6 separate regions of the Homo sapiens genome follow, and all the other regions are linked to region 1. The links are contacts of gene promoters, found by promoter capture Hi-C in blood cells and fetal thymus (Javierre and others, 2016). All regions are on one chromosome and are shown on one strand. The core of a region is centred on a gene start or on the middle of the fragment in contact, and the rest is flanking DNA. Distances in the headings are between cores, read along the strand shown.

Region 1 (2,872 bases), core at 102-2,601:
CTTCCATACCTTTTAGGAAATTGATCACTTTGCCCCATTTTCCGGCATCAAAGGGATGCAGCTTCTCCAGGCCCATGAAGGTGATGTTGTAGCGCGGCGAGTACACGATTGGCCAGCGTGTCTCTGGCACATGCTGGTACAGCTGGGTTGTGTGTAGCCTACCGTGTGGAAAAAGACAGACGCACAGCTGGGGCAGCCTCGGCAGAAAGCAGCTCCCTCCCGAGCCCGCCTGGACTGACCCACCAGCCATTGCCCAGCACCACTAGCCCCTCAGCCGCAGACAAGGGCCCCTCAACAACAGCTGCTTAAACTGGCTGCCTTTCCCGGAACCCAATTCCAATCCAGTCCTCACAGCAGCCCTGGGGGTAGGCACCACAATCGCACCAGAGGCTCAGAGAGCAGACCAGGTGTGCCCAAGGTCACAGTGCAGGTCTGTGGAGAAGCAGGCGTGCACTCAGGTGTGTCTGGCTGCAAGGCCTCCGCGCATCACCTCTGCACCGTAATAAATGCCCCCACAGCTGTGTGGCACAAGGCTTCGGCTGCAAAATGTGTGGCTGTTGTGAGGACTCAGAGAATGCAACTGAGGAGCTGAGCACAGTAAGCACTCAGAAACCCAAGTCGGGACCCAACCTGAGCCAGGGCGGGGGGCGGGGATCCCCTGACCCCGCTGCGCTGCTAACCCTTCCCATCACACCCTGGCAGTCGTCACCCAGAGACAGAAATCCGCCCCAGTGGCTGCCTCCGTGGGGGCGTCCGCGTAGCCAGGGGGCTGGGCAGCGCAGACGTCAGACCCGCGCACATCGCCCGACCGCTCCGGGTCCGGGCCCAGGCCCGCGGCCGGCGCGCGTCCCTCGGGCCACCGAGCAGGGGCGCGGGGCTGGCCTGGCGCGCCGGGAGGGCCTGGAAACACCCGTCCCGAGCGTCCCTCACCCCTCACCAGCAAATCTGGGCCCTTACCTGGCGCGCCCGCCCGGCCGTCCCCGCCCTCGCCCTAGCGCGCCCGCCCACCGGGACCCCTGGGAGCCCACCCCCGCCCTCGCCCCGCGGCACTCACATCCCGGGGCCGGCCCTCCCAAAGCTGGCCGCAGCTCCGCGACCGGGCGGGGCGGGGCGGGGCGCGGGTGGGGCCAGCCCAGGACACGCCCCCGGGCTTAGCCGCGTCCTCTGGGGGCAGAGCTCTGGCCGATTTGGCCCGCCCCGCCAGTGTTGCGACACAGAGAGCCTGCCCGCAGGAAGGCCACCCCCAACGCCCATCAAGCCCGAAGTCCCGCCTCCGCAGGCAAATACCCGGTGGAATCCCGCCTGGTTCGGAAGCTCCGCCCCCTGGCGGGAGGGCCAAGCGGGTTTCACCCCGGCCTCGCGGAAGGGGCGCGACCACCGTATGTCCTGTTCCTGCGCTTCCCAAGCTGGGTAGAAACGGCGAGAGGCTGGGGGTTAGAAACGACAGGTTCCCGGCGGGCTGTGCCGGGGCTTCGCTGTGTGACCTTGGGCTGGCGTCTGGGCTCTCTGGGCCCTTGTTTCCGCGAGTTAAACGTAGGGGCGGGGGAGTTTCTCTGGCCCTGCCGCCTGTGACCTAAGGAGCCCCGTGACCTCTCCGACCCGAGCCCACCCCCGGCCCAGTCTGCGAGCAGCTCCGGGACAAGCACTCCCGGCGAAGACATGTAGGCTCTCAGAGCCTGCGTTTCCCTCTGTAGAGCAGGCCTAGTTACTGTCTTCAGGGTGCACGCGTCTCCGTCCCCGACCCGCACCCTCACCGCCGGGGTAAGCTGAGCCAGGCCCAAGCGACAGCTGGGGTTGTCCGTGGGGCTGCAACCCAGGAGGAGGCCCCAACAATAGAGCCCCAGAGGACGGAGACAATGGGCCTCTCTGTCGGCCCAGCCGTCCCCGCCATCCAAACAGAAGCAGCTGACGGAGGACTGCCGGGCTGGGATCCCTGGGCTCCGCGGGGGCGGCTGTGTGCCAGGGCGGGGCACAAGGGAAGCGCACAGACGTTTGAAGAGGGGCCCCCGTGTGCCTGCCATGATTGCATGATGGCATCTGAGCCTCACAACCTAATCCTGAGAAAGGTGCCATAATCACCCCAACTTTATCTTGAGGGAACTGAGGTTCGGGCCTGGATTAAACCCAAACTCGGCCACCCGCCAGCATAGTGGCTTTGGGCAGGTTGCTTCAGCCTTCTGGTCCTTCATGTCTGCATCTGAAAATGAAGTACTGGGCCGGGTGCGGTGGCTCACGCCTGTAATCCCAGCACTTTGGGAGGCCGAGGCGGGTGAATCACCTGAGGTCAGGAGTTCGAGACCATCCTGACCAACATGGTGAAACCCCGTCTCTACTAAAAATACAAAAAATTAGCTGGGCGTGATGAAGGGCGCCTGTAATCCCAGCTACTCGGGAGGCTGGGGCAGGAGAATCGCTTGAACCGGGGAGGGGAGGTTGCGGTGAGGCCGCGCCATTGCAATCCAGCCTGGGCGACAAGAGTGAGACTCCATCTCAAAAAAAAAAAAAAGGAAGAAAATGAAGTTCTGGTTGCACTTCATTCTCTGGATTTCATGGGCAAGTCCAGGGAATCAAGAGACAATAATGTTGATTATTATTCAGAGACCATCTGTCATGTGCTAAGTTGAAGTCCAAATGCTTTTTGCTTGTCGAACTCTTCTGACAGTCCTAGGAGGCAAACTATTGTCATCCCCATTTTATAGATAAAGAAATTGAGGCACAGAATGGTGAAGTAACTCACTCAAAGGTCAGGGATGTGGGCAGATGTAAACCACAGAAGGAATAAGTACTATTTTATAAAGTGACAGAGTGCATGCAGTGGCCCTGTGGCATTTGTGAGAGACCGACTTCCCCTCAGGGAACTTGCTCTGTAGTT
Region 2 (2,872 bases), core at 200-2,699, 820 kb after region 1:
CATGACCTCAAGTGATCTGCCCGCCTCGGCCTCCCAAAGTGCTGGGATTACAGGCGTGAGCCACCACGCCCAGCCATGTCTTTTTTTTTTTTTTTTTTGAGACAAGAGTTTCGCTCTTGTTGCCCAGGCTGGAGTGCAATGACGCGATTTCGGCTCACCGCAATCTCCGCCTCCTGGGTACAAGCAATTCTCCTGCCTTAGCCTCCCGAGTAGATGGGATGACAGGCATGCACCACCATGCCCAGCTAATTTGGTATTTTTATTTTTTTATATTTATTTATTTTTTCGAGACGGAGTCTCGCTCTGTCGCCCAGGCTGGAGTGTAATGGTGCGATCTGGGCTCACTGCAACCTCTGCCTCCCGGGTTCAAGCGATTCTCCTGTCTCAGCCTCCTGAGTAGCTGGGATTACAGGCGCCCGCCACCACGCCCGGCTAATTTTTGTATTTTTAGTAGAGACGGGGTTTCTCCATGTTGGTCAGGCTGGTCTCGAACTCCCGACCTCAGGTGATCCGCCTGCCTCGGCCTTCCAAAGTGCTGGGATTACAGGAGTAATCCCAAAAAAAGCGCCGGGCCCTTTTTTTGTTGTTTTTTAAATTCAGTAACTATCTAGTTCATTCTTGGATGGATGACAACCCAGATTGGATGTGTAGCAGCGTTCTCTTAACCAGTTTCCTATTAATCTTCATTTCATCCCCAGTGTTTCTCCAGAATGCAAATAATATGGCATTAAATATCTTCACACATAGCTTTTTGTGTATGTGTATACTTATTTCTCTAGAATTAGTGTCTAGAAGTGAAACTGCCGGGAGGAAGGATATATACTTTTAACATGTCCAAGTTCCACTGTGATAGCGCTGCGAGGGCACACAACAGGTTTCAATATACCTTGGACCAAACCGGATATTATCAGTTTTTTTAACTTGTTGCTAATGTGATGGGGGAAAAATGAACTCGGAATTTACACACAAGGAAAAGACCGTTTAAGGTTCAGGGACTGTCCACATAGCTGTCAAGTGGCGGAGCCGTGATTTGGTATTAAAGTGCCCGGAGAGGACGCGTCAAAGTTGGACACTGTGCCCTGTGTCCTGAGGCACGTCTGGTGATCGCTGGGCCTTGCAATGCTGGGCAGGCAGGCCTTCCTCTCCCCTTCTAGGCCTCTGGCCACTCCTGGCTGGCCGAAAGCCGGTTCTTCTCGATTACCGAGTGCCTCTCCTGAAAGCAAGTCAGCGTCGCCTAACCTCTTCAGCTTCGAAATGGCGGCCACCAGATCGCTAGGCCACGCCCCGGGGGCGGGGCCTGAGTTCAGGCCAGAGCGATGGATGCCCGAGCCAAGTTAGAAGTCGACTGCCAGTAGGGCTCGCGCAGAATCGGAGAGCCGGTGGCGTCGCAGGTCGGGAGGACGAGCACCGAGTCGAGGGCTCGCTCGTCTGGGCCGCCCGAGAGTCTTAATCGCGGGCGCTTGGGCCGCCATCTTAGATGGCGGGAGTAAGAGGAAAACGATTGTGAGGCGGGAACGGCTTTCTGCTGCCTTTTTTGGGCCCCGAAAAGGGTCAGCTGGCCGGGCTTTGGGGCGCGTGCCCTGAGGCGCGGAGCGCGTTTGCTACGATGCGGGGGCTGCTCGGGGCTCCGTCCCCTGGGCTGGGGACGCGCCGAATGTGACCGCCTCCCGCTCCCTCACCCGCCGCGGGGAGGAGGAGCGGGCGAGAAGCTGCCGCCGAACGACAGGACGTTGGGGCGGCCTGGCTCCCTCAGGTAGGTGGCAGGACCGGGTCGTGGATGCCGGGGGAGCCGGGCGGCGGGGCTGAGGGATCGGCTTCCAGGGCGACCGGGCCTGGGTGGCGCTGATGGAGCGGCCCCGCGGCTGCCGGGCAGAGGGCTTGGGCCAGGCCGTTGTCACCCTGGGGTAGCGTTGGGCGGGGGCCCCGGAGTCCGGTGTCATGGCCGGCGAGCCGAGTTCCCACATCCCACTCAAATTTCCTTGTGTTTGGCGGAAACGTGCCAACGCCACCCTTATGCCATGCGCATTCCTCATATTTGGCAGTGGGAAAATCCGCCCAGAGCTGCCCCATATCTGTTGTCACTTGGATGGGCCAATTCCTTTTCTCTTGGGCCGCCGAATGTGGGACCCGGGCTTGCACCCTTTCTCAGGGTACTTCAGTCAAGTGACACCCTTTTAGAGACGACGTGAGGAATCGGGTAAGAGAGGAGGAAACTGGCCAGTGCCCTACCACAAAGGCACAGGGGCCTCTTCTTGGGTATCAGGACTAGCCTTGGGTATCAGGACTCTGGGTTATTAATGAAAGGTTTGGGATACTTATAGAGGATTGGCCTCAGGACGCTTTGGAATGAAGAGCCAGGGCTGTCTTTTGTGTGACGCGAGAGCCGCCGGGACGCTTCAGCTCTGCAGCTGCTGAGGCTCTGCGAGCGAGTCGATGCCCAAGAGAGAGGGGTTTGGACGTCGTGAGAGGCGAGGCGGCCGTGTTCATTCATTGTTCTCGTTCTAGGGCTCTGGGTGTGCCCCTGGTATTCATTCTGTGGTGGGAAGAAGGAATGGAACTTAGTGTATCCTTGAGATGTGAACGGGTTCTAGGGGGTCACTTAATCTAAGTGGAAAATGAATTCAAGGCACGTTCATTGAGCGTTTCTGCTTGCCTGGTCCTCTGTGGGCTGAGTGGAGAGACTCTGCCCTCCCTGCGCTCCTAAGGCGTGAAAACAATGCAGTGTGATAAGAATTGGCTTATCAAGTGTTATGGGGATTTAGAACAGTTAGTTTTGCTTGGGGAGGAGTTGAGGAAGCTTCTACACTCGAGGAGACTTCTGAGTCGAGTTTTGAAACACCTGTGAGTAAGTGCTCATCGGGTGAGGAGGAGC
Region 3 (2,872 bases), core at 195-2,694, 670 kb after region 1:
ACTATGGGAGGCCGAGGCGGGTGGATCATGAGGTCAGGAGATCGAGACTATCCTGGCTAACAAGGTGAAACCCCGTCTCTACTAAAAATACAAAAAATTAGCCGGGCGCGGTGGCGGGCGCCTGTAGTCCCAGCTACTCAGGAGGCTGAGGCAGGAGAATGGCGTGAACCCGGGAAGCGGAGCTTGCAGTGAGCCGAGATTGCGCCACTGCAGTCCGCAGTCTGGCCTGGGCGACAGAGCGAGACTCCGTCTCAAAAAAAAAAAAAAAAAAAAAAAAATTAGCCGGGCACGGTGGCACACACCTGTAGTCCCAGCTATTCAGGAGGCTGAGGCAGGAGAATTGCTTGAACCTGGGAGGTGGAGGTTGCAGTGAGACAAGATAGCGTCACCGTACTCCAGCCTGGGGGACAGAGCGAGATTCTATCTCCAAAAAAAAAAAAAAAAAAAGATAAACAGCTTAGGCCGGGCATGGTGGCTCACACCTGTAATCCCAGCACTTTGGGAGGCCAAGGCAGATGGATCATCTGAGGTCAGGAGTTCGAGACCAGCTTGGCCAACATGGTGAAACTCCATCTCTACTAAAAATACAAAAATTAGCTGCACGTGGCAGTGCGCCCCTGTAATCCCAGCTACTTGGGAGGCTGAGGCAGAATTGCTTGAACCTGGGAGGTGGAGGTTACAGTGAGCAGAGATCGTGCCACTACACTCCAGCCTGGGAAACAGAGCAAGACACGAGACTCAGTCTCAAAAAGAAAAAAAAAAAAGAAGTTAAAAAAGCTTAGTCCAAGGTTGGGTGCAGTGGCTCACCCCTGTAATCCCAGCACTTTGGGAGGCCGAGGCGGGCAGATCATGGGATCACAAGGTCAGGGGTTCAAGACCAACCTGGCCAACCAACATAGTTAAACCCCGTCTCTACTAAAAATACAAAAATTAGCTGGGTATGGTAGCGTGCGCCTGTAGTGCCAGCTACTCAGGAGGCTGAGACAGGAGAATCACTTGAATCCGGGAGGCGGAGGTTGCGGTGAGCCGAGACTGCACCATTGCACTCCAGCCTGGGCAACAGAGCGAGACTCCGTCTCAAAAAAATAAATAAAAAAGCTTAGTCCAGGTTCTACACGAGCAGGCACTCGATAAATAGCATCTGTTATCAAAACCATTATTCATGTCCTGGCCTAATTTCCTTCACTAGGTTTAAGTCCTTGGATAGGAGAAAGGGAGGCAGGTACTGCCCTAATAGACCAGGCAAGAGGGGTTCCTGCCTGGTCTCCAGGCTTTAGAGCACTCCACTCAAGCCCTTCTCCAGCCATACCCTTCCCTACAGCATAAGAAGAGACATGCTGACCTAGAGACCCCCAACACTCCTAGACTCCATTCTGTCTGGGTATCTGGGGACCCGAGTTTCCTGCCCAATGGATCCTGACCCCTTGTCCGAGCCTGCGCAGGCCTCTTTCCTAGGTCCATGCAACCAAGGATGGCTGAGGGCTGGCTGCTGTTTGGGAGAAATGGGACAGGGTGTGGCCATGTCAGCTGGGGTTCCCCCCCCCACCCCCCGCCGTGTGCCTGCAAGGCCCCTTGCAGTGAGAGAGCCAGGGGTTGGGAGGGGCTGACCATATGCCAGTTCTATCCAAACTGTCTTGGTATAGTCAGAACTCCAAGGTGTCTGAGGATACATTCAAACCTGATTGCAGCTTTCCATTTCTAAAAAACTAATCTATAGTGACAGAAAGCAGATCAGTGGCTTCCTGGACAAGGCAGAGAGCTGGACTGCAAACGGACACAAGGAAGCTTTTGGGGGTGATGGAAAGGTTTCACGGATATACACAAAGGTCAAAACACACTGAATTGCACACTTTAAATAGTGCGGTTTATTGTATGCACATTAAATTGTTTCTTAAAAATTCAAACTTGGCTCATGGGCTGTTACTAAGATATCTTTGTCAAACTGGGAGAAGAGAACATAGTCTAACAGTTTAGTGGCATGACTTAAAATTGTAATTACCAGCCAGCCTCCACGTCTCATAAGTGATTGAACCAACCCCCTTCTCTGAACCGTCTGCACTCAGCAGGGGCTCAGGCCTGGGGGTTTGTCGAGCTCAGGGCCCGCCCTGCGCCTCTCAAGCCCTATCCGGCCCCAACCTCTGCGTTTCAGGGGCTTCAGCCGCCCGCCCCAGGCCCCACCCACCACATCAGCCCAGGCCCCGCCCCATCCTCCCTACCAAGGCAGACGGCCCACCCTTAGGCCCTGGCTGCACTGCGGCCCAAGCTCCGCCCCTTTACCGAGTCATTGGCTCACCCTAAGCTCCGCCCACCATGCCAGCCCAGGCCCCGCCCCCTGCCCCCTTACCGAGGCGGTGGCCGGCCTGGCGGCCGACGCTGCCCAAACATTGGATCAGGGTGCGGATGGCAGTCGGGCTGGTGGGCACCCGCGGGCCGGGCAGCCGGTCCAGTAGGTGGTCAGCGAGCTCGACGAAGAGGTCGGTGCTGCAGGCGGCCGCCAGGTGGCCAAGCGCTCCGACCGCCCGCTTGCGCACCGCCAGGCGCGGGCTGCTCAGCTGTGGCAGCAGACAGTGCAGGAGGCTGGCGTGGAAGGCGCCCAGCGGGACACCCAGCCTGGGGAGCACGAGGGGGCATCAGGCCGATCGCACTCCGCGGGCAACCTGGGCCAGGCTCCGCCCCTCTCCCCATTCTCTCCCGGCCTCCTTCCCAGGATTATGGCAACTCAATGGCCCTTGCAAAAGAGGTGCCCTGCAACTGTGAGGAGGAATTATTTTAATTACTTTTGTTACATGAGAGAAAGCGGAGAGAGAAAGGGACTTCTCAGCAGTGCAAAGCCTGGCTCCCAGCCTAGGGAGAAAGACCTGATAGGGGAAAG
Region 4 (2,872 bases), core at 170-2,669, 640 kb after region 1:
GGCCTATTGGTTATCAAATGGGGCACAGTGTAGCTGCCTCTTAAAAAGTTGTGAGGAATGAGTTAGAACTGGATCTGAAGTCCTCAGGTAATAGGCATGGCTATGACTGGGTGACTTTAAGCATTGTTGCTTCTCAACTTGCTTTGTATCCTCAGCAGTCAAACCAGGTGCTCTTGGCTCCATTCAGACTCTTGGGTTCTGCTCTTGACCATTTTGCAAAGAGTTCTGAACCTTCATGGGCAAGGTCAAGCACCCTGTGACTGGGGGAGAACCTTTGAACCTGGAGTGTGGGCCTGGGTTCGCCCCGGATCCCTGTCCATTGCTTGCTGTGGGCCTTGGTTTCTTTATCTGTAAAATGGAGGTAATGCCTGGATTACAAGGCTGCTATAAGGATGAGAGGGGACAATGAGGGTACTTTTTAATGAAAGCATTCTTGTCACCACCAGGGAACCATAGTCAGGATTTGGGGGCATGTAGGTGTCATTCCACAGCCACTTACCAAGCAGCCCTCTCTTAGCTTGGTGCTGGGACTCATTGCCTCTCCAATGGAATTTTCCAAGTGTGTTGAGGGCTGTCTTGCTCCTTACCTACTTGATTCTCTTGCAGATCTTACTGTGCCGAGATCGCTCACAATGTTTCCTCCAAGAACCGCAAAGCCATCGTGGAAAGAGCTGCCCAACTGGCCATCAGAGTCACCAACCCCAATGCCAGGCTGCGCAGTGAAGAAAATGAGTAGGCAGCTCATGTGCACGTTTTCTGTTTAAATAAATGTAAAAACTGCCATCTGGCATCTTCCTTCCTTGATTTTAAGTCTTCAGCTTCTTGGCCAACTTAGTTTGCCACAGAGATTGTTCTTTTGCTTAAGCCCCTTTGGAATCTCCCATTTGGAGGGGATTTGTAAAGGACACTCAGTCCTTGAACAGGGGAATGTGGCCTCAAGTGCACAGACTAGCCTTAGTCATCTCCAGTTGAGGCTGGGTATGAGGGGTACAGACTTGGCCCTCACACCAGGTAGGTTCTGAGACACTTGAAGAAGCTTGTGGCTCCCAAGCCACAAGTAGTCATTCTTAGCCTTGCTTTTGTAAAGTTAGGTGACAAGTTATTCCATGTGATGCTTGTGAGAATTGAGAAAATATGCATGGAAATATCCAGATGAATTTCTTACACAGATTCTTACGGGATGCCTAAATTGCATCCTGTAACTTCTGTCCAAAAAGAACAGGATGATGTACAAATTGCTCTTCCAGGTAATCCACCACGGTTAACTGGAAAAGCACTTTCAGTCTCCTATAACCCTCCCACCAGCTGCTGCTTCAGGTATAATGTTACAGCAGTTTGCCAAGGCGGGGACCTAACTGGTGACAATTGAGCCTCTTGACTGGTACTCAGAATTTAGTGACACGTGGTCCTGATTTTTTTTGGAGACGGGGTCTTGCTCTCACCCAGGCTGGGAGTGCAGTGGCACACTGACTACAGCCTTGACCTCCCCAGGCTCAGGTGATCTTCCCACCTCAGCCTTCCAAGTAGCTGGGACTACAGATGCACACCTCCAAACCTGGGTAGTTTTTGAAGTTTTTTTGTAGAGGTGGTCTAGCCATGTTGCCTAGGCTCCCGAACTCCTGAGCTCAAGCAATCCTGCTTCAGCCTCCCAAAGTACTGGGATTACAGGCATCTTCTGTAGTATATAGGTCATGAGGGATATGGGATGTGGTACTTATGAGACAGAAATGCTTACAGGATGTTTTTCTGTAACCATCCTGGTCAACTTAGCAGAAATGCTGCGCTGGGTATAATAAAGCTTTTCTACTTCTAGTCTAGACAGGAATCTTACAGATTGTCTCCTGTTCAAAACCTAGTCATAAATATTTATAATGCAAACTGGTCATTTTTGGGATTTTGTTTTTGAGACTCATTCTGTCACCCCGGCTGGAGTGCAGTGGCTTGATCTTGGCTCCCTGCAACTTCTGCCTCCTGGGTTCAGGCGATTCGATTAACAATTGGAGACGAGTCGTGCAGAGGAAAGAAGTAACTTAGAATCTAATCTTTATTAACCTGGGATATCACAGAAAATACTTGGGCCTGCCACTTGTATTTCTTTGTCCTCAATACTGAACACTAGACACATTTGAAACCTTCCTCAGAAGGAAACAAACCAACTGGTTATGCCTGGGTGGTGGCATGGAAGATGCCCATTGTTGCCCAATTTGCTAATAAGTATTTTGAAATTAGAAATGAAACATGAGGTCCAAGCCTGTCCAGTTCCCTACCCAACCCATTCCTCCTCCCTGGAAAAAAGAAACCCGTATCATCTTCCAAATTTCTGATTCATCACTGCCACTTAAAAATGAACCGTTTTGAATTTTAAAATGTGAATAACTCAAGTATCTTTTCTTTTGAGATGCCCGGCCTGAGCACTAACTTCAGGCATTGCTGAATGCAGTGAAGAAACCAGAGTGGTGTCTGCTGCCTCCTGATCTTTTACAGCTGACAGCACAGCCTATTTCTAAATACTACTAGTTTGTGAGGCAGAGACACCCTCTGAAGGAACCAGACAGACTATGGAGGGGTACAGTGTGAAGTCACTGGAAAACTTCCTCACCCTATTTCTTTGGATGACTGTCCTGAGTTAAGGAAGGGGCCCAACTGTTGGCAGCCTCACAGCTTGGGCTGGGGGCCTTTGAGTTGGGTCCCTGGAGAAGGCACTGTAAGCCCTGACCAGGAGCGACAGGGCCCCCAGTGAGATGGTGGAAGGGCAAAAGTAGAGACCTGCGATGGTGGGATGGGGAGGCCTCGGACTTGGGTGGGCTCCTTTCTCTTAAGCGAGGGCCCACCTTGGTGCTGAGGGGACTAGCTGAGCTCCATTGAGTCTGTG
Region 5 (2,872 bases), core at 265-2,764, 600 kb after region 1:
CAGAAAGGGAACACAATTGGGGCTGGATGTTCTTTCAGCTTCCCTTGCAGAGATCACTGACAGAGTGGTCAGCTTGGCCAAGCTTCTGCAAGGGCTGGCTGTGATGTCTGGGAGGGAGGCAATCCCCAGAGCAGGAATGCCTTCCCTGGGGCTCATATCCTTGCAGGGGAGGAGGCGGCCATCCTCCCTTCAAAGCCTCCTTCACTGCAGCCCATGGGAGGCGAGTGACCTGGGGGATCCGTGCCCAGGGCAAACCTCTGGGCTCTAGCTTAGCCCCACCTCCGAGGAACATTCACAGCCCTTCGGGAGGAGAGCCCTGCTGCAGGAAGACTCTAGGGGAGGGCCCAGCTGCGGGGTCCTGGGCTGTTGGTGACAGTACCCCAGGCTCCAAACTCTCTGTGCCCGGGGGGCAATTCCCTTCCCTGGTTGCAGCAGATTCCCACCCCGCCCTGCCCCACTGCCCGCCCCACGGGGAAGTGGCCCGGGAGTGGAGGCGTGGACAGGCATCCCGGTGTCTCGAGTCAGGCTGTCGGGCCAGCCTGGACAGCACGGCCCGCGGAGGGCAGACAGGGCGCACGGAGCAGGCCCCAGGCTCCAGAGCAGCCGCTGACAGGCTGTCCAGCTGCATCGGGTCTCCATGGAGACGGAAGCGGGGCCACAAGGTGGTGAGCGGCGGGGGGCGGGGCTTCCAACGGCCATCAGCCCCGCCCAGCCTGGGCAAAGAGAGCCCGGCCTGGGAGGCGGAGCCAGGGACCCCCGGGCTGAGCCTGATTTCTGAGGGCGGCCGGGGCCACCTCCCTCCAGACGCTGCTGCCCCCACGCGGACGGGCGCCCTCTGCGGGTCCCGTGGCTCCCGGCCCTGCTCAGCGCCTCCAGAGCCCTCACCCGGGCCCTCTCCGCTGGGTCCACAGGGTCCTCAAAGCGCTGGCCCAGACGCGGGGTCACTCTCCTGAGCCTCCCGACCTTCCCATGGGTCCTTTGGAGCCCTGGGTTTTGGAGTTTGTCTTTCCTAAGTGCCGCTCGCCCGGACGCGGCTGCTGCAGGACCACAGCCGACCGAGTGCGGCCGCGTCCCCTGCAGGCCACCCGTCAAGGGCACAGGGGAGAGGCGCCCCAAGCCACAGAGTCGCAGAGCTGCCAGGAGCTGACCCTTCGGGTGGGGAGAGGACACTAACTCGGGTCCTCTCCACTTCCTCAAGGTTCCTTCTCACCTGCAGTGAACGGCTCCCAGCACCTCTGGGGCCTTCCTGTTTCATTGATGTCAGCAACTGATCATTGATCATCTCTGGTGTGCAGGGACAGAGAAGACAGACCCGCTGGCCCCCCCGGGTGGGCGAGGGAGTCTAGTCTATCTGAAGAAAACTCCCATAGAGATAGGGGCTAGGAAGGAGACACCAGGAAAAGTGAAGGTGGAAGATGGGGGTGACCCTACTGCGGATGGGGTGCTCAGGGAGGGTTTCTTTGAGGGGGTGACATTCACTAGATTGACCAAGGGACGGTCAGGGCCTGTGAAAGTATTTTAAGAGAGGGAATGGCAGTGTCCAGTGGACTGTTTCAGGGATGGAAATAGGGCAGCAGGGTGAGGGGTGTGAGCCAGGCAGGCAGGGCCCAGACACCATGTGATGGGTACAGGGGTGGGACCCATGGAGGCTCTGAGAAAGGCCTGGGCCTCAGAAGACAGGGAAACAGGAAGACCCACTTCGAGGCCTCACAACCTTCTAGGGCACAGACGGTGAAAATGGCTCAGGCCAGAATTTGGTTTAGGTTTCAGAAGGGTGCTGGGTGCCTCATGCTCTTCTTGAGGCTAAAGGGCTCCAGCTCCTTGGACCCTTTCCATGCAGACATTGTTCTGGGGCCCCCACTACATGGACACCCTTCTGATGTTGTCTGCAGCCAGGCAGGGGTCGTGGGCCAACCCGCCCCTTCCTTGGCCAAGTGGACAGATGAAGGGAGCCTCTGGGGGCAGGATTGCTGGACTGGGAATTAGACTTGGAGTGTAATCAAAATGCCCCACAGGCCCCACCTCTTCTCTGGAGCTCGACTTCTTCAAGAAAACTGGAAACAAAGGGATGGCAAGACCAACTCTCAGGACCCTTGCCCTTCCATCCCATGATGCTTTTAGACAGTTCCCAGGGGCCACCTTTTTCAGGAAGAATTATCAGGATATAGGAAAGTAAAGGGAGGAAACGTGTTTTGAGTGGCACTTAGATCAGGCTCTAGACTGGGTGTTGGTTTGGTGGGGTTTGCTTTTTCTCCCGCCCCACACCCCTTCACAAAACCTGGGTCCTGGCTAGGCTGGGAGTGAGATTCCTGTGTCTAGATTTTCATCATTCCGTGTTGCACAGGAAGTCTAGGGAAAAGGAGACAGATATTAGCAAGTGTATAAAAGAAAATTTAGCCAGAGAAAACCTAGAAGAGGAATGAAGATGGGGGGATTATGAATGGCAAAGGACGAGCTGGGGGAGAGGGAGTTGGGCGTGGGGCTGGGACAAACAGAAAGGAGGTGGGGGAGGGGCCAGGGAAATAAAGTCCAAGAGGTCAGCAGGCACCAGAAGCCATAGCCTTAGTTGGGGCATCAGGAGAGCAGCAAGCTGCATCTACCTTGGAAAGATGGAGAGAAGACTGCAGTGAGCGGAGTGGGGAGGAAGGGGGAAGTGGCAGGGCAGAGGAAGCAGGGTACAGACAGGAGAAAAGAGATGGTGCCCTGGGCCAGGTGGCTGCCACCGCTACCATCGCCAGAAGTGGAAAACTCTTTGCCTTCTCCTTACCACTGTCACTATGACACCCCAATTCTTTCTGCTCCCCCTTCTTTAGTAATAGGTGCTGGCAAGTAAGGAGCAGTCTGATTTGAGTTTGCGAAGGAAACCCTTGGA
Region 6 (2,872 bases), core at 97-2,596, 510 kb after region 1:
CCTCAGGATAGGGCCCATTCCCTTCTCTGGGGCGCATCAGAGCCCCAGAACCACACGGTTCGGTCCAGGCAGGCAAAGGCCAGGTTTTATAAACTGAAGGCAAAATCGGGATAGGCAGATGTTGAGTAGGCATCAGCGGAGTAGGCTCTGGTTGGGGGTTTGGCGCTGTGCATTTGTTGTGGTTACACGCTGGAGAGGAAGACATGGCTCCCGGGAGGCGCCAGTGTTGGAGGGGCTGCGCAAAGTCCTCCTTCCAGAACAGAGGCTTCGCGCGCTGGGACCTGGATGCAGTGTCTGGGACTCCGCCCTTGCGCTCTGCACCCCGCGCCTCGGCTCGGCCCCGCCCCTGCGCGTAGCCCCGCCCCTGACGCCCCGCCCCTGACCCCCCGCCCCCTGTGCTTCTTCCGCGGCGCCGTGTGGCCACGCCTCCTGTGCTCTCTTCCCCACACGCTCCGTGCAGTCTCGCCCCCGCGCGCAGCCCCGCCCCCAGCTCGCCCTCCGGCCCCGCCCCCAGCTCGCCCTCCGGCCCCGCCCCCGCCCTGCCCCGCCCACTTCAGGGCCACATTCCTCCGGCCCGGCCTCGCGCTGCGCCAAGCGGGCGGCGGCGGAGGGGCGGGCTTGGCTGGCCTGGGGCTCGGACTTGGGGCCGGAGCCGCGGGAGCCGGCGGACGCTGGACCAGGAGCCCCGACGTGATCGCGTGGCGGGTGGTCGGGTCTCCGGGTGGCCGGGTGTCGGCCCCGGGATCCGGCGGCTCGCTGGCGGGAGTCGGCGGCCTCTGCTGGGCCTGGGTCCCGGCTCCCGGCCCGGCCCGCTCCCACTGCGGCCGCCATGTGGTGCCTGCACTGCAACTCGGAGAGGACCCAGTCCCTTCTGGAGCTAGAGCTTGACAGCGGGTGAGGGCGCGGCGCGGGGCGAGCGGCCTTCCCGGGTGCTGAGCGGTGGGCTGGCGCAGGCTGTGGGGATGCCTGTGCGGGAGTGCGGGTGACCGTCGGGACCGGGCGCCCGGCGTGCGAGAGAAAGCTGCCTGCGGGGCGGGGTGCGTCCGCCAGACTGTGGGTTTGGGTGAGAGAAGAGCAAACAGGACCCGAGTTTGTGCGTGGGAGAGAGAGACGCGCCCTTGGGACAGGAGCGCTGTGTGTGCCCTGGGAGGGTCTCAGGATGGGAGTGTGTGTGTGTGATCGAGGGCCTGTTGGAGTGCAAGTTGGTGTGGGGGTGAGTTTGAGTTTGGGGGCTTGAGAGGGAAACAGTGGGACTCGGTGTGGGTGTGAGGTGAGGGGCAGGAGGGAGAGCGGAGAGTTGGTGGGAGGGTGCCCAGCGGGTCTGTGCCTGTTTCCAACTGCAGGCAGGGCCGGAGCTGCCAGGAAGGCCTCTTGCAGGCCTGTCTATTCCAGACATTGGGCCTATGTCTGGATTGATGTGTCTGTCCTGTCTGCAAGACCCCAAGTGTGTGTGAGGGTGGATGACCCTGAACAAACAGGCGTCCCAGGTGTGTCAGCAGCTTCTGTCGGGTACTCTGCCCCTGGCAGGGCCACTTGGGGGTGCACTGGGGTGTGTGGCTGCTGTTTGTGGCAGAGTGTGGATGTGAGGGGCTTTGTGTGGTGATGCGTGTGCACCTGGTGTGGTCAGGGATGGAGTCTGGTGTGTCAGAGGGGCCAACCCTTTTCTACTTAGGGGCCTGTGGGCGGCTGTCTGAGCTTCCAAGGGCCCGTGTTTATGGAGAGAAAGGGAGAAAGGGAGTGTGTGTGTATGTGCTGGGAATATTGATTTCCTCTCTGCGATGGCCAGCACAGCTGCCCCCTGAGCTATCTGCAGGCCCTTCTGAGGAGCAGGGGGGTGGGGCTAAGGGGATTTGTTGACAAGCTGACTTGGCTTATGTCAGGCCCCCTCTGGAGGAAGCCCACCTGGAGCTGTTTGATCTTTCAGTTCAAAAATTGTGCAGCGCATGTCCAGCAGTTGCACTGAGAACATGCATATGTCTCCCTCTGCCCCTTCCTCACCCCAGAGGCCTGGAGCGCTGAGCCTGAGCCTCCAAGTGGGGTTGGGGGGCTTCTCAAGGACCCCATTGCTCCTTGCATCTGGGGTGGAGGCCAGGCATGCTGCAGCTGCAAGACCATCTGTCTGGAATCAGTGGCAGCAGTCTGGACATGGGGGTCATGTTATTCATATCCCACACACACCCGCGGCCCTCATAGTCCATCAGCTGTCCCACCTGGTATTACAATTGCTTCTTACCCTTGTGGTACCAGCATCCTCATATTGCAGGAGAGCAAATCGAGGCTGAGCATTCAGTCTTGTCAGTACTAAAGCTCTGTGGTTTATTGAGTGCCTGCTATGTACCAGTCCCTGCTCTAGGCACCAGAGACACAGCAGTGAACAAAACATGGAGTCTTTGTCCTCATGGAACCAGCAGTCTAGTGGGGAACAAGAAACCATTAGCGTGCTCTCCTGGCTGCACCTCCCGCCTCCCTCTGAGCTGAAAGTAACTGGGGAGGGGTTTCTGCCCCTCCATTAGGACCATTCCAGTTGACATGTCCAGGCCACCTCTCTTGCATACTTCTCAGTCCCACATCCCTTCTCATTAGAAGTCCCTCCGGGCATCTCATCTCAATCTTCCAGCTTCAGGGAAGCCTGCTTGGATCCTTCTGTGGTCTGGGTTGGTGATGAACAGCTGCTCCCCCAGTCTCAGAACATGAGGCAGAGGTCTTGGAGGTTGAGAAGCCTCGCTCAGGTGTAGCCCATAGTTCACGCATCAGCCTCAGAGCAGGTGGATCCCATTTGCTCTGGAGCACCTGGTATGTGGTTCCATGGGAAGCTTGGGGGAGGGGTAGAGGAAATCAACCCAGTCCTTGGCCTGTGGAGGCAGAGCTAGAT

The links. The method cuts DNA at HindIII sites, captures the fragments that hold promoters and counts their contacts. A CHiCAGO score of 5 or more calls a contact.
Region 2: the fragment with the promoter of RAF1 here is called in contact with the fragment with the promoter of HDAC11-AS1 in region 1 in 1 of 17 cell types (naive B cells); the score reaches 5.4 in naive B cells.
Region 3: a contact is called between a fragment that was not itself captured here and the fragment with the promoter of HDAC11-AS1 in region 1, in 4 of 17 cell types (naive B cells, total B cells, fetal thymus and 1 more). The highest score is 8.0, in naive B cells.
Region 4: a fragment that was not itself captured here is called in contact with the fragment with the promoter of HDAC11-AS1 in region 1 in 2 of 17 cell types (neutrophils and total B cells); the score reaches 7.2 in neutrophils.
Region 5: a contact is called between a fragment that was not itself captured here and the fragment with the promoter of HDAC11-AS1 in region 1, in 3 of 17 cell types (naive B cells, total B cells and neutrophils). The highest score is 8.2, in naive B cells.
Region 6: a contact is called between a fragment that was not itself captured here and the fragment with the promoter of HDAC11-AS1 in region 1, in 8 of 17 cell types (fetal thymus, total B cells, naive B cells and 5 more). The highest score is 6.8, in fetal thymus.

The regions. Positions count from the first base shown.
Region 1 is chr3:13,478,532-13,481,403 of GRCh38, reverse strand. It overlaps HDAC11-AS1 (HDAC11 antisense RNA 1), which reads left to right and starts at 1,351. Exons shown (of 2, transcript NR_046690.1): 1 at 1,351-1,761. HDAC11 (histone deacetylase 11) reads right to left here and starts at 1,098. Exons shown (of 10, transcript NM_024827.4): 1 at 1,055-1,098; 2 at 10-158. The coding sequence starts at 1,056. RefSeq lists enhancers at 377-1,033, 1,683-1,742 and a silencer at 733-1,222. The HindIII fragment of the contact is 8,461 bases long and covers 1-2,872 here.
Region 2 is chr3:12,662,694-12,665,565 of GRCh38, reverse strand. It overlaps RAF1 (Raf-1 proto-oncogene, serine/threonine kinase), which reads left to right and starts at 1,449. Exons shown (of 17, transcript NM_002880.4): 1 at 1,449-1,753. RefSeq lists enhancers at 1,074-1,143, 1,184-1,533, 1,145-1,756, 1,757-2,367 and a silencer at 1,724-1,943. The HindIII fragment of the contact is 11,087 bases long and covers 1-2,799 here.
Region 3 is chr3:12,809,797-12,812,668 of GRCh38, reverse strand. It overlaps CAND2 (cullin associated and neddylation dissociated 2 (putative)), which reads right to left. Exons shown (of 15, transcript NM_001162499.2): 5 at 2,345-2,610. Among named protein-coding and RNA genes, the nearest start is that of CAND2, 15 kb to the right of the region's middle. RefSeq lists a silencer at 2,133-2,582. The HindIII fragment of the contact is 687 bases long and covers 1,101-1,787 here.
Region 4 is chr3:12,833,958-12,836,829 of GRCh38, reverse strand. CAND2 (cullin associated and neddylation dissociated 2 (putative)) reads right to left here. Exons shown (of 15, transcript NM_001162499.2): 15 at 2,027-2,872. The coding sequence ends at 2,848. It overlaps RPL32 (ribosomal protein L32), which reads left to right. Exons shown (of 4, transcript NM_000994.4): 4 at 607-2,345. The coding sequence ends at 736. Among named protein-coding and RNA genes, the nearest start is that of SNORA7A, 5.1 kb to the left of the region's middle. The HindIII fragment of the contact is 762 bases long and covers 1,039-1,800 here.
Region 5 is chr3:12,874,091-12,876,962 of GRCh38, reverse strand. It overlaps a transcript of LOC105376956 not described here. Among named protein-coding and RNA genes, the nearest start is that of LINC02022, 9.7 kb to the left of the region's middle. RefSeq lists enhancers at 1-285, 286-799 and a silencer at 693-932. The HindIII fragment of the contact is 2,860 bases long and covers 85-2,872 here.
Region 6 is chr3:12,965,409-12,968,280 of GRCh38, reverse strand. All of the region lies in intron 1 of IQSEC1 (IQ motif and Sec7 domain ArfGEF 1), which reads left to right. Among named protein-coding and RNA genes, the nearest start is that of LINC02022, 82 kb to the right of the region's middle. RefSeq lists an enhancer at 18-97 and silencers at 248-667, 778-827. The HindIII fragment of the contact is 2,939 bases long and covers 1-2,815 here.